Regions from separate parts of the Homo sapiens genome. Here region 1 is linked to region 2. The links are contacts of gene promoters, found by promoter capture Hi-C in human tissues and cell types (Jung and others, 2019). All regions are on one chromosome and are shown on one strand. The core of a region is centred on a gene start or on the middle of the fragment in contact, and the rest is flanking DNA. Distances in the headings are between cores, read along the strand shown.

Region 1 (6,141 bases), core at 345-2,844, 42 kb before region 2:
GCTGCAATGGGCAGTAAGTGGGGCCAGGGCAGCCTGACCCCCAGGGGACCAGGGAGTTGCTGGTGGGTGCTGCAACTTCTTTAGTGATCAGTAAAACTCCCACCTCTGCCCCCATAGAAGGCCTCCTGGAGGGAGCTATCTCCTGGGGCCCGGCCGTTGACACCTCCATGGACAGGCTGAAGTAGTTGGCTTTTGAGTGTCTCTCCAAGACAGCAATTTGCCACCTCATTATGAGCTTGATGGATGAGCACTGACCGGGACAGCCGTCCCCTTGGGTGGGGGAGTGGCCCTGGGCCACCCAAGGCCCAGAGAAAGGCAGCTGATGTGCATGACAAAATGTTTTCTTACCGCCCGGTGCCAGTGACAGCCCCTCAAAGGAAATGCAGTCTCTGCAGAAGTGATTCATGCGCCCGTCTTTGTGGGGCCGAGATTGGCTGTTGTTTGGCGGTTGAAGAAAGGGCCACCGGCTCCTTGTAGTCTCTGGGAATGCCGTCTCCGTGGGCCACCAGCCCCCCGGTCAGCACGCACGAGGCCACTCTTCATTTTGATGAGGTTTCCAAAGGCCCTGGCTGCAGCCGGGGCCACTGCTTGGTCGGGGCCACTGCAGGCCGGCTCAGTAGCAACCTTTGCGGGCCGTGCTTGATTCCATAAGAGAGAAAGGGCCCCTGCCAGCCCATCTGTAATCTTCGATAGCACCAGGTCCCCAGCAACCTGCACCCACCAAGGGGTCATCAAATATGCACTATGTCATCAGCTGATTGACACCTTGCTCCCCTCCACGAGGGCCATTCTTACAACCCCAATATTCCCCGACCATTCCCTCCACGGGTCTCTGTTTGCCTGTTGCCATGCTCCAGGCCTTGGATACAGCTGTGAGCGGGACAGACTGGGCTCATGTGGCTGTGTGTCCCACAAGGGAAAGCCGGACAGTAAACCAATGCGTGGGTGAGATGTCCAATGTGACCAGTGCTCAGGGGCAGGCAGTGGTGGGGCTTGTGTCCTTGCTAGGGTGGTCAGGGAAGCTTCTCCAAGGGGGTGATCCAGTGTGATGATGGACAATTTCTGCATTTCTCTGAGTTTCTTCCCCGTAAAACAGGGATAATAGTAGTTGTATCATACAGTTGTTGCATGCATGAAATGACACACAGCATGAGACACACTCAGCTCCATCGGGGATGCAGTAAGACCTCAATAAACCACACAGCTATTACATTGCGGCTGCCATTGTCATTAATTTTTAGTTTCAGATCATTCCAGTTAGAAGCCTTTCCAGATCCTATGAACCTCTGTTCATTAATCTTTCACTTAGCCAATGCTTCTGGGGCAATGAGTCCTCAGAAACTAGGTTTGCCCAGAGTGTCGGAGGCCCCTCCAAAAGCGGGGGCTGGCAGGACCACGGCCGTTTCCTGCAGGAGAAAGATGAGAGAGAGGTAGAGGTGGCCACTATCCAGGTGAAGCAAGAGGAGCCCTCGTTTTTGACACCTGTCCCAGATGGGCAGGAGTTCTGGATTGCCAAGGTCAGCCTTGGGTCTGTGCAGGTGAGCCCAAGGATTTGGAGCTACTTGGTCTGAGGAGTGAGAGCTGAGCTCTGGGGAAGAAGTTGTCAAAGTAAAAGCAGAAAGGGTCCTGGAAAAAGCACTCGACTAGGAAGCTGGAGTCCAGGGTTCTAGCCCCACAATATGCCTGTACCTTGCTGCCTCCCTTTGGGCAGGTCACCTGATCCCTCTTGGTGTCATCCCTCCTATAATGGGCTGGACCAAGCGAATGCTCCGTGCACTGCATCCCAAGAGTCCTGGGGATCTGCTGGAGGTGTTGCGGGATCTGGGTTTAGAGTGAGAGTGGCTCAGGAAGGACAGTACCAAGTAGTTATCACTGCACAGCAAACCACTCCAAACTCGGTGACTTCACATGAGGAGTGCTTCTTCTATTCACAAGCCCAGGGGTCAGCCGGGCAGTCCTGCTTATCTGGATGAAGCTCGGGGGATCTTGGCTGGACTCATCGTATGTCTGCAGACAGCAGGTGGGCTGGCTGGTTTAGGATGCCCTCACTTCCATGCCTGAAGATTGGGCAGCTCTCAGCTGGAGTCACGGTGGACCACTGGGCCACTGTCTCTCTTCCTCCAGCAGGCCAGCCCCTGGTAAGAGTCCTGGGTCCTCTTAGGGCCTAGGCTCAGAATTGGTGGCTGGTCTCTGCTGCCACAATTCTATTTTTTTTTTCTTTTTTGAGACAGAGTCTCTCTCTGTTGCTCAGGCTGGAGTGCAGTGGTGTAATCATGGCTCACTGCAACCTTCGCCTTCCCAGCTCAAGCAATCCTCTCACCTTAGCCTTCTGAGTAGGTGGGACTGCAGGTGCATGCTACCATGGCAACACAAACTAATTTTTTGTGTTTTTTTGTAGAGACAGGGTTTCACTGTGTTGTCCAGGCTGGTCTCGAACTCTTGGACTCAAGCAATCTTCCCTCCTCCGCCTCTCAAAGTGCTGTGATTACAGGCATGAGCCACTGCACCCAGCCACTGCAGTCACATTTTTTTGGCCAAAGCAAGTTACAAAACCAACCCTGATTCAAGGGACAGGGAAATAGACTTTGCCTCTTGCTAGGAATTGCTGCAACCAGGAGTGTTGAGTTGGGGAGGAAAATAATTAGGGGCATTTCTGCAGTCATTTAACCACGAGGACCAACAAACAAGACTTGAAGCGGGGTGGGGCCAGAAGCAGGAGAGACGCACTGTAAACAGGATCCTCTCCAGAGGGCAACATGGAGTCCAGCTCAGAGGTAGAGCTCACATTTTCCTCCAAAACTACACGTGGCTATTTTTTCTTCCTGGTATTACCCCATCCCCTTGTGTGTATATTTTTTAAAGAAGAAAACATTCTCTCAGATTAAACAAAATTGTACTTGTGATCACAGTCTCAGCTTTTACACCGTGAGAACATCGGAGGATTTGTGTAGGAAGCCTGAAGGTGTGTCGCTGTGGGTGACCCGTGGGCCAGTCTGTAGAAAAGACAAGAACTGCAAGTTCGTATAATACAAAAGCCTCCCCTGCTGCATGGGAAGAAATGGATCTGGTACCTTAGAACTGGGGAGTAAAGGGATAAATGAGAAGAAGCGACAGCTCTTCCTTACCAAAGAATCCAATTAATAAATGTAGAAAGAATTTGGAAAATAGAAAATCACCATTAGAACAACAAAGTCATCACAGTCATAATGTGTCCAGAGTTGGTTCCCGCTGGTGGGTTCGTGGTCTCGCTGACTTCAAGAATGAAGCAGCAGACCTTCGTGGTGGGTGCTACAGCTCTTAAAGATGTCCCGGACCCAAAGAGTAAGTAGCAGCAAGGTTTATTGTGAAGAGCAAAAGGACAAAGCTTCCACCACATCCAAGGGGACCCGAGTGAGTTGCCCCTGCTGGCTGAGGTGGCCAGCTTTTATTTCCCTATTGGCCCCGCCCATGTTCTGTTTCTGTCCTATCAGAATGCCCTTTTTTCAGTCCTCCCAGTGATTGGCTACTTTTAGAATCCTGCTGATTGGTGCATTTTGCAGAGCACTGATTGGTGTGTTTTACAGAGCGCTGACTGGTGAGTTTTACAGAGCGCTGACTGGTGCGTTTTACAGAGGGCTAATTGGTGCATTTTACAATCCTCTTTTAAGACAGGAAAGTTCCCTAAGTCCCCACTCGACCCAGAAAGTCCAGCTGGCCTCACTTCTCAATAATTGTTACAGGTAATATCTGCTGGTTGAGGCTAAAATTAGTGGGTACAAGTTTGAGGAGAAAGAGGATATTTGCATAGTCTGAAAGTATTGCTCCTAAAGTTATTAATTACAACAGGAAAAGTAGTAAGGAAGACACCACCTTAACCAAGTGATCTAGGTTAACTTTGCCACTAATGAGATACAGTGACATGGGCATTGCTTCTAGGGTATTCTTGCAAAAATGCATAACCTCCACCTTATCATGAGATAACATCAGATAAACCCAAATTGAGGAAAATTCTGCTAAATAACTTACCATCACTCTTCAAAAGCGTCAAAGTCACGAAAGATAAGACAAGGCTGAGGAAGTGTCTCAGACTGAGGAGGCTAGGAGGATATGACAAGTAAATACAATATGATGTCCTGGACTGGATCCTGGAACGGGAAAAGGACATAGCGATGAAATTTATGAAACCTGAATCAGGTCTGTAGTTTAGTTGATAGTGTTGAACCCATGTTAATTTCTTAGTTTCGACAATTATATTTGGCTGCTTGAGATACTAACATTAAAGGAAGCTGGGTAAGGAAGTCTTGGGACTATTTACTGCCACTTTTCTTTCAGTTGAAAATTATTTCAAAATAAAAAGCTAAAAAAAAAACTATGTGAAGCAAAGTAATTTTGGTTCCAACCATATTGTACTGAGTATTAAGATCACCCTTTCATCATAAACAACTATTCAACTGGGTGCAATATTTAAAATAACTTTTGAAGGCATCAGACAACAGAAAATACAGGGCTGTTTTCCTTCATGGGGAAAGACATATGGGAATAAGCCCCGCCTTCATTCTGGCTTTATACTTGAGGGAAATTTCTAAACTGAGGCACAAGGCAGCCAAACCCAACCTAAAGCAGCATTCTTGCCATTGCAGCTCTAGAACAAGGGCTCTTCTAGGCCCACAATAACAAGGAATGAAAATAATCTTCAATCAAACTGTTTCACCAATAAATTAACAGCCTGTTAAGGGGAGAAAAATTCTCAAGATTCTTTAAAGGAAGACAATAAAATCCAGACTAAAACAACATAGCATTTGCAATGTCTAACGTACAGTAGAAAAATTACTAGACATTCAAAGAGGCAGAAAAAATGTGACCCATACTCAGAAGAGAAAAAGTAATTAATAGAAACAAACGCAGAGATGACACAGATGATTTAGCAGACTTTAAAACAACGTGAGCGTTAGAGGTGCCAACACCCCATACAGTCAAAAATCCATGTTTAACTTTTGAATCCCTCAAAACTTAACTGCCTGTTGTTGACCAGAAGCTTACCAATAACAAATAGTTGATTAACACATATTTTGTAAGTTTTACGTGTTATACACTGTATTCTTACAATAAAGTAAGCTAGAGAAAAGAAAATGTTATTAAGAAAACCATAAGGCAGCCTGGTCAACATAACAAGACCCTATCTCTATAAAAAATTTAGAAATTAGTCGGGTGTGGTGGCACACACCTGTAGTCAGGAGGCTGAGATGGGAGGATAGCTTGAGTGCAGGAGTTTGAGGCTGCAGTGAACTATGATAGGGCCACTGCACTCCAGCCTGGGGGACAGAGTGAGACTCCATCTCAAAAGAAAGAAAGAGAGAGAAAGAGAAAGAGAGAAGGAGGGAGGGAGGGAGAGAGGTAAGCAGGCAGGCAAGCATGAGGAAGAAAAAATATGTTGATTATTCATTAAGTGGAAGTGGATCATCATAGAGGTCTTCATCGTCATTGTCTTCATGTTGAGTAAGCTGAGGAGAAGGAGGAAGAGGAAGAGGAAGAGTTGGTCTTGCTCTCTCAAGGGTGACAGAAGTAGAAGTAGTGGACGAGGTAGAAGGGGGAGCAGGAGAGGCAGGTGCACTTGCTGTAACTTTTATTTTTAAAAATCCACTTATAAATGGACCTGCACAGGTAAAACCTGAGTTGTTCAAGGGTCAACTGTATTATAAATATGCTCCAGGCCTTAAAGAAGAAAATGCACATAATGAATACAGAGATGAAGAATCACAGCAGATATATGAAAACTAAAAAAGAAGTAAATGGAAATTCCCAGATCTGAAAAGTACAATGTCTGAAATGACAAGATCAAAAATTCACTGGATGGTCCTAAAAACAGATTTAACAGTGTAGAAGAAAATGTCATGAACTTGAAATCAGCTCAACGGAAATTACCCAAACAAGAACAAGATAATTGATGGTATCTCTGATATGAAGCAAAAATAATCACAGTATATTATGGGTTTATAACATACACAGAAATAAAATGTATTATATAATGGCACAAAGGGCAAGGTGAATGAATAAATAGAAGTATATTGTTAATAGCCAGGCGTGGTGGCACACTCCTGTAATCCCAACCACTTGGGAGGCTGAGGCACCAGAATTGCTTGAACCTGGGAAGCAGAGGTTGCA
Region 2 (6,731 bases), core at 2,944-5,443:
GTTGGAACCCTACTCACTAGGACCTCAGAATGTGGCTGCAATTGGAGCTAGGGTCTTTCAAAGGCGATTAAAGTAAAGCGAGGTCTGTGGAATGGCCCCAGTCCAATCTGACTGGGGTCCTTATAAGAAGAGGTAATGAGGACACAGGCACACACAGAGGGACGAACCTGTGAGGACACAGGGAGAAGATGGCATCTACAAGCCCTGTTGGCTGCTCTGCCTGGAGCCCGATGCCAGGCACTGACAGGCACAGGCTGCCCTCGGTGTTGTGGGGAAGAAAAAGAGCAGCTGGAGGTGTCTGTCCCTGGGCCAGGGGGCCCTCTGCTCCCTCCTCTCCTCTACCCAGAGAGAATCCTCCTTTATGTCTCAGCTTGGGGCTCCAAAATAGCCAAGTAGCCAGGAAATAAGGCGAACATCCATCCATGGATGAAAAATAAACAGCATGTGGTCTGTGCACACGACGGAATGCCACTAGGGCAGAAAAGGGGAGGACACACTGGCACACGCCACACCGTGGATGAGCCTCAAAGTGCTGCGCAGGCCCCACTGCGGGGAGATGTGCCTTCCATCCCACCCCTGCCTGCGGGGGCTCCTAACTTTGCCAGAAGCAAAGTGCCAGCTTTGCCCCAGAGGGACTTAGAGGGGCAATGGTTTCCCTCTCCCCACTGCTCGGGTCCTGGGTCCCGTAGCCAGAAGGGGCATTCCAGTCTTCTCGCCTCATCTCCTGGCTGTGTGACCCCGGGCAAGTCACTTCACCTCTCTGAGCCTCCCTTTCTCATCTGTAATGTGGGGCTGATCAGGGCTGCTCCCAGAATTTCAGGGACCCATGGTCTCCCAGTGACACAGGCAGGCTGGGTCTCTCTCCCACTGCTCTTGGGGACAAGGATGGGGTAAGAGGATGGGGGGGCAGGCAACATAATTAGAGTGAGTTTGGGGCTGGGAGTCAGCATCACATCTGACAGTCCCTGGCCAGCCACCTGCGGCCACACCATAGGACCCTGTTCTCTGCCCTCTCTCCACCCCAGCTCTCTCTCCAGGGGAAGAGGCTAGGGGCAGACTCAGGTACCAGATAGGGCTGGGGGTGCTCTGGGGGACAGGGTCCCAGTGCAGAGGTTCGGGGGATGCTGGTAGGAGCACTTCTGCTGGGCCTGGGGTGTCCAGCCTGGGCTCTGGAAGAGACCAATTAGTCAAATGACTACAGTTGACCATTTGGAAGCAATTAACAGGGTCGCTATTAGCGCATGGTGCACCCCCCGCCTGGCTCCGAATGGGAGGGAGAGGGGCGAGGTTGCCATTATGTGGGTGCCTCTGCCCCACCCCACACACAAGACTTTGTGGCCCAGCCCCCTGCCCCTGCCGGGCAGATGTGGAGGAATCAGGTTCCCCTCCCTTGGCTGGGCCTGAGGGTCCCAGAGTCCCAGGGTGGGGGTCTGGGGGGCTTCCTGGGCTGGAAAGATCAACAGGTTTAGATGAGGAGGAAGAACTCAATAGGTGGGTGAGCAAGGGCCTGGAGGCGCAGCCCAGAAGATGTGGGAAGTGAACTAGAGGTCCACGCGGGTGGGTGAGCATCCCCAGGGTTCCCCCAACACTACGGCATTTGTCAGAGGGGCTGGGGCAGCTGGAGAAGGCAGCTTTGGGCTCCAGACCACTTCCCGTGACTGCAGGGTGGACCGCAGATGGAAGGACCGGGCTGAAGGCTGTCGCCAGCGACCGGAGGAGAGAGGAAAACTTGGCCCAGAGAGCTTGGCTGCCTCGGAAAAGTCATGCTTACCAGAACAGCAGACAGTGAGCCAGGGCCACCAGGAGGGACCTCAGGCAGGGCACCGGCTGTCCTGGTATAACTGCAAATTGCGCCCTCTTTCACTCTCAAAGGCAGCAGGGTTTGCGTCATAAACTGTGGTCCCCTGCGGCTGGAGCATGCCCTGCGCTGATGGGAGGCCAGAGGCTTTGCAGAGGTAATGCCACTCAGTTTCCGGCCCTACCTTTGGGGCATCACACACATGAGAAACCAGTATCTCAGGAGCGACACTACACAGCCAAGGCCTCGTGGCAGGAAGTGGCCGAACCATTCATTCATTTTAGGAGTATGCACTGAGTGGCTGGTGTGTCAGGTTCTCCCTAGGAGCTGGAAACCTCTTGCCCATCCCCTGAGCTTCCCTCCTATAGAGGGGTCACCTTTGGACTCCTGCTTCAGGGCAGCAGCCCCTGCCCTCATCTTGGGTTCTCGGGCACACGGCAACCTGGCAGTGGGCAGGGCTGGAGACCAGAGCCCGGGAGTTTCCCTGGGAACTGCTGGGGGCCCCAGGTGTAGAGCAGGAGGGGCATGGACACCCAGATTGCCTTGGTCAGATTTTTCTGGCTCCTCCCAGTCCTCCAGAGGGGGTCCTGCCAAGGAGGCAGCCGGAGCCTTGACAGGAAAGGGCATCGGAAGTCCCCTGGCCCCAGCAGGCTGCTCTTGCTCTCTCTCTCTTAAAACATTATTGTGTCCTCTCTCCTCTCTCTGTCAGACTGTGCCCCCTGACTGCACCCCTCTCTGAATTTCTTGTGCACCCCCCACCCCCGCCACTACATCTCCTCTCTTCTTGGCCAGGTGTCAGGAGGTAGCAGAGCTAAGGCATTTAGAGCAGCGACCTCCTTCCTGTGCCTCTTCCATGCCTCTTAGGGAGCCCAGGTGACCACACATCCCAGCCCAGGCCTGCACAGGGCTGCACTGGACAAGCTCTCCTCTTGCTGCTGTCCTTTGGGGCTTTCCTGTCACCAGCCTCTGACCCCTGTAACACAGTCTCCATCAAGAGTCTGAGGCTCCAGTAGTTCAGTGGCTGGCCTCTGGCCTGTTCAAGGACTCTCACAAGCTGGCCCTGGGGCAGCGGCTAGGAGACCCTGACTAAGACTGAGGTGCTCGGGGATGGCTTGGGGGCGCCCTCCTTCAGGATGGCCACCTGGACCCTGTGCACGCTGGAGTGGGCTCACAGAGGACACACTGCCCTGTGTGTATTGGGCCATGGGAGCTGGACACGTCCCAGGGGTGTGTGCTCACTGCCACAGCTCATGGTGCCCTGCACACTTGCCTGACCCCAAACCCTGATGCAGATGGCAGGCTGGGGAATGTCAGCCCACCCAACTCACCCCAGAGCCCCTGGTCAACTTGGAGCCAAAGCTGTGGCCTAGACCCCTGGACTCCACAGCGTGCCCTCCTCTGGGGCAGGGTTGAGAGAAGCAAATCCCCTGTGCTGGCCCCTGCTTCCTGCTGGCCCCAGGACCCTGGGGGACAGAGGACCAGGAAGCAAGAGAAATGGGTGGGGACATGGCTTTTCCCGATACTTTTTGAAGCCCCTCTTCACTGGGCCCCCTGAGATACACCTTGACCCCCACACAGTCCAGGGGACCACCTGGGCATCTGCACTGATTCAGATCCTCCAGGCCAGGACTCCCCCACACCCATTCCCAGCTTCTACCGGGTTCCTCTTGTCATCACCCACCCGCTGTGGCTACCAGACTCCCTGTGCTTTTCTCTGGGTGTTCTCCGCGGCTCTGTCTTCTTTCCATCTCCCCTGCCTCCTCTTTTTGGCGATCTCTGTCATTCACATTTTCCATGTCTTTCCCGTCCTTTCCTCCTCCGTTTCTGTCTGTCTCTATCTGCATCTCTTTCTCTCTAGGGCTCTCTGTCGGCGCCCACTTCTCTGGCTCTCGCGTCCCTCCTCCCGCCTCCCCAGGCCCCTCTCTGGACCGTCACTGGGACGGGATCCTCCGAGGCCTGCCAGACGAGAGCTAACCCCACCACTCCGGGTGCCCAGTTGGTGTGCGCAAAAGGAGATAGCATCTCCAGACCCGGCCTGCCCCGCGCCTTGCAAGGCTGAGGACAGCGCCACTGCTCCTGCAGGAAGCGCCGGGCGCAGACACAAACCCGGAGCTCCCCACGCGTGCCCGCGCCCCGGAGCCTCCCTGCCGCCGCCCTCCGCGGTCCCCTTCATTATGCGCCGCCTTTAATGGGCGTTTGTCAGCTCGACTTCCCCGCAAGTTGTTTTCACGGACATCAGTCATCGGCGGCGGCCCCATTGTGCAGGGGGATTGATGGGGAGCGGGAGGGGGTGACAGGGCCTGGGGCGGCCTCCTCAAGGCCTCGGTCTATAATTTTCGGAGGCATAATTGGTCTGGGGGAGGGGGCGGGGGAGGGGCGGGTAGGGGACCTTTCAGAGCCAGGAGGGCTTTCGGGGGCGTGGGGCGCGCTGCGGAGCGGAGCCGCGGCTCGACGGCGGTGCGCTGGCGGCGAGTGTATGCAGACGGCGCCCGGCCCGAACCCCGAGCCCCGCGGGGCTCCCCACCCGCCGGCCTCCCGCCCCTCCCGCGCCTCCGCCTGGGGACCACGTCGGCCTTTTGTTGGCGAACCGTCCTTTCTTTCAGCGCTTTGCGCAGCAACGGAAATTTCATTGCTCCTGGGTGGAAATTAAAGGGACTCGCGTTCCCTCTCTCCCTCTCCCTCTCCCACTCTCCCTCTCTTTCTCTCTCTCGCCCACCCTTCCCCCTTCTTCCCCCACCTTTCCCGCGAAGCCGGAGTCAGCATCTCCAGGCGCGGGATCCCGCTCCGAGCACCTCGCAGCTGTCCGGCTGCCGCCCCTTCCATGGGCGCCGCGCTCGCCTGCAGCCGCCGCCGCCGCGGGGCGGGCGCGATGCCACGATGGGCCTAATCTGGCTGCTACTGCTCAGCCTGCTGGAGCCCGGCTGGCCCGCAGCGGGCCCTGGGGCGCGGTTGCGGCGCGATGCGGGCGGCCGTGGCGGCGTCTACGAGCACCTTGGCGGGGCGCCCCGGCGCCGCAAGCTCTACTGCGCCACGAAGTACCACCTCCAGCTGCACCCGAGCGGCCGCGTCAACGGCAGCCTGGAGAACAGCGCCTACAGTGAGTGCCGGACGCTGCGGGGCCCCGGGGGAAGCGGCGCCGGGAGGGGTCGGGCCCGGGAGAAGGCGCGCTGCGGGGCCCCGCGGGGGAGGCGGCGCCGGGGAGGGGTCTGGCCCGGGAGAAGGCATGGTGCGCCCGGGGTGTCCGGGAAAAGACCGTCTGCCTCCCGCTGCCAGAAGGGGAATGCCAGGGTGCCCTCCTCAACCTACACGTCCGGGAGAAGAGCGCGCGCTGGGGTTCGAGCAGAACTCGGGGGCATGGGCGTTCACGTCCGAAGAGGGCGCCGGCGGCTGTCAGAGTCCGTCCCCGGTCCGGCCCGCTGGTCTGAGGGGACGCGAGCTAGGCGACCCCGGGGCTCCAGGCTCTGCTGCTTTGGGCAGCTCTGACAAGTTTAAGCCCTTTGAATGTGTCGGAGAAAAGGAGCCGGACAAGGCATTTATCATCCTCTTTATTATTTTGACGACTTCTCCTCCTCCTGCCGACCCCTGGACGCCCCGCCGTCCCCTCCGCCCTCCCCGCTCGCGGCTGCCCAGGTGGCCGCCCCCGCTGCTGCCTCTGCGCGGAGGACTCTTGCCCTGCGGAGCTCGGTTCCCTGGCCGCGGCCGCCACCGACAGTTATTCCCCGCGCTGGAATCTGCACCTCCCCCGCCTCCGCCCTGGCCGCACAGCGACAGGAGGGTGGAGGCCCTCGCCGTCGGGACGTGCGGATCACGAGCGCGGAACGGTGTCCGCCCGGGCCTGGGGGTGCAGACACACACACTCCGGCCCCCGCACGCAGGACCCGCGGCCCGGGCTGCGCTCACCGCGGGAGTCTGCCGGACTACACGGTTGGGCTCCTCTGGTCACAGGGACCTGAGGCCCGCGCCGAGCCCTTTGAGGAGCAGGATAGCGGAGCTCAGGGCCCGGGAGGACCGCGTGGGGAGCGTGGGAGGGCAGTCAAGACCACAGCTGTCCTCGGGTGCTCCGCGCGGCGCTCGGCTCCGGCCCCGGGCGCAGGAAGCGGTTCCGCCGCTTGAAGGTGGCGGCGGCGGCCTCAGCAAACCGCGGCTTCCTCCAGGAAAGCCGCAGCCCTGAGAGGGCGTCCTGGGGACATGCGCCTCCGGAGCCGCACGGTGGGCACCAGCTGTCACCAGGGGGTCCGAGTGCGCGGAATTCGTCTCACTAAGACACTCCGGTTCTCTCCAAAGCCAGGCTCCCCCTCGGAGTCGCACAGCATCCAAACTTCTTGGTGTAGGCTGCTCACGGGGAGGGGAGGGCGCGCGCCCGCAGCCGCCCCTGTCCTGCGTCGAGACTCGTGCTTCGCTGGTCCCCGGTCAGGCACCGCCGATGCCGCCCAGCCTGCGCACTGGGAAGGCGGGAGGCTCGCAGCCTGCACCACAGCACCCCTGGGCTGGAGCAAAAGCCCGGTGGTGACCGCGTCTGTGCTCGGACCGCGTGCCAGGAGGGCGCTCCTGAGAGGCATGCCTTGGAGAGGGTGCAGGCAGTCGCCCCAATCCCCTCGCAGCCTCTATTGGGAGACAATGACCCCAACCCGTCCTTTGATGTAGTCCCCCGCCCCCAGCCCCCACCACAGCACTCGTGTATCCAGAAGGAAAGGCGGGAGGGGAGATTTAAACTTTCTTATCCCTGGGGAGTGGGTGAGACCCGTCCAGCTTCCCTCTGCGGGCTCCAGGGTCTAAACTGGCTTCCTGCCCTTCCAGGTCCCCCGGCGAGTACAATGATCTCCCGCCAGGTCTATTGCCAGCATGATCTGGGTGGCAGGCACCCTGGCTGTGTTATTGCCAGTGGTTTATATTATCAGCCTGGCTCATCAGGGCCCAGCTTTCCCGCTGGCAG

The links. The method cuts DNA at HindIII sites, captures the fragments that hold promoters and counts their contacts. A contact is called where the count stands out against the background at its distance.
Region 1: a fragment that was not itself captured here is called in contact with the fragment with the promoter of FGF3 in region 2 in 2 of the 25 tissues and cell types used here (adrenal gland and stomach).

Annotation. Positions count from the first base shown.
Region 1 is chr11:69,856,874-69,863,014 of GRCh38, reverse strand. No RefSeq gene overlaps it. Among named protein-coding and RNA genes, the nearest start is that of FGF3, 41 kb to the right of the region's middle. The HindIII fragment of the contact is 5,190 bases long and covers 1-4,189 here.
Region 2 is chr11:69,816,878-69,823,608 of GRCh38, reverse strand. It overlaps FGF3 (fibroblast growth factor 3), which reads left to right and starts at 4,193. Exons shown (of 3, transcript NM_005247.4): 1 at 4,193-4,895. The coding sequence starts at 4,676. It overlaps LOC107984368 (a long non-coding RNA gene), which reads right to left and starts at 4,901. Exons shown (of 3, transcript XR_001748071.2): 1 at 4,536-4,901. RefSeq lists promoters at 4,184-4,330, 3,741-4,578 and an enhancer at 6,133-6,653. The HindIII fragment of the contact is 24,587 bases long and covers 1-6,731 here.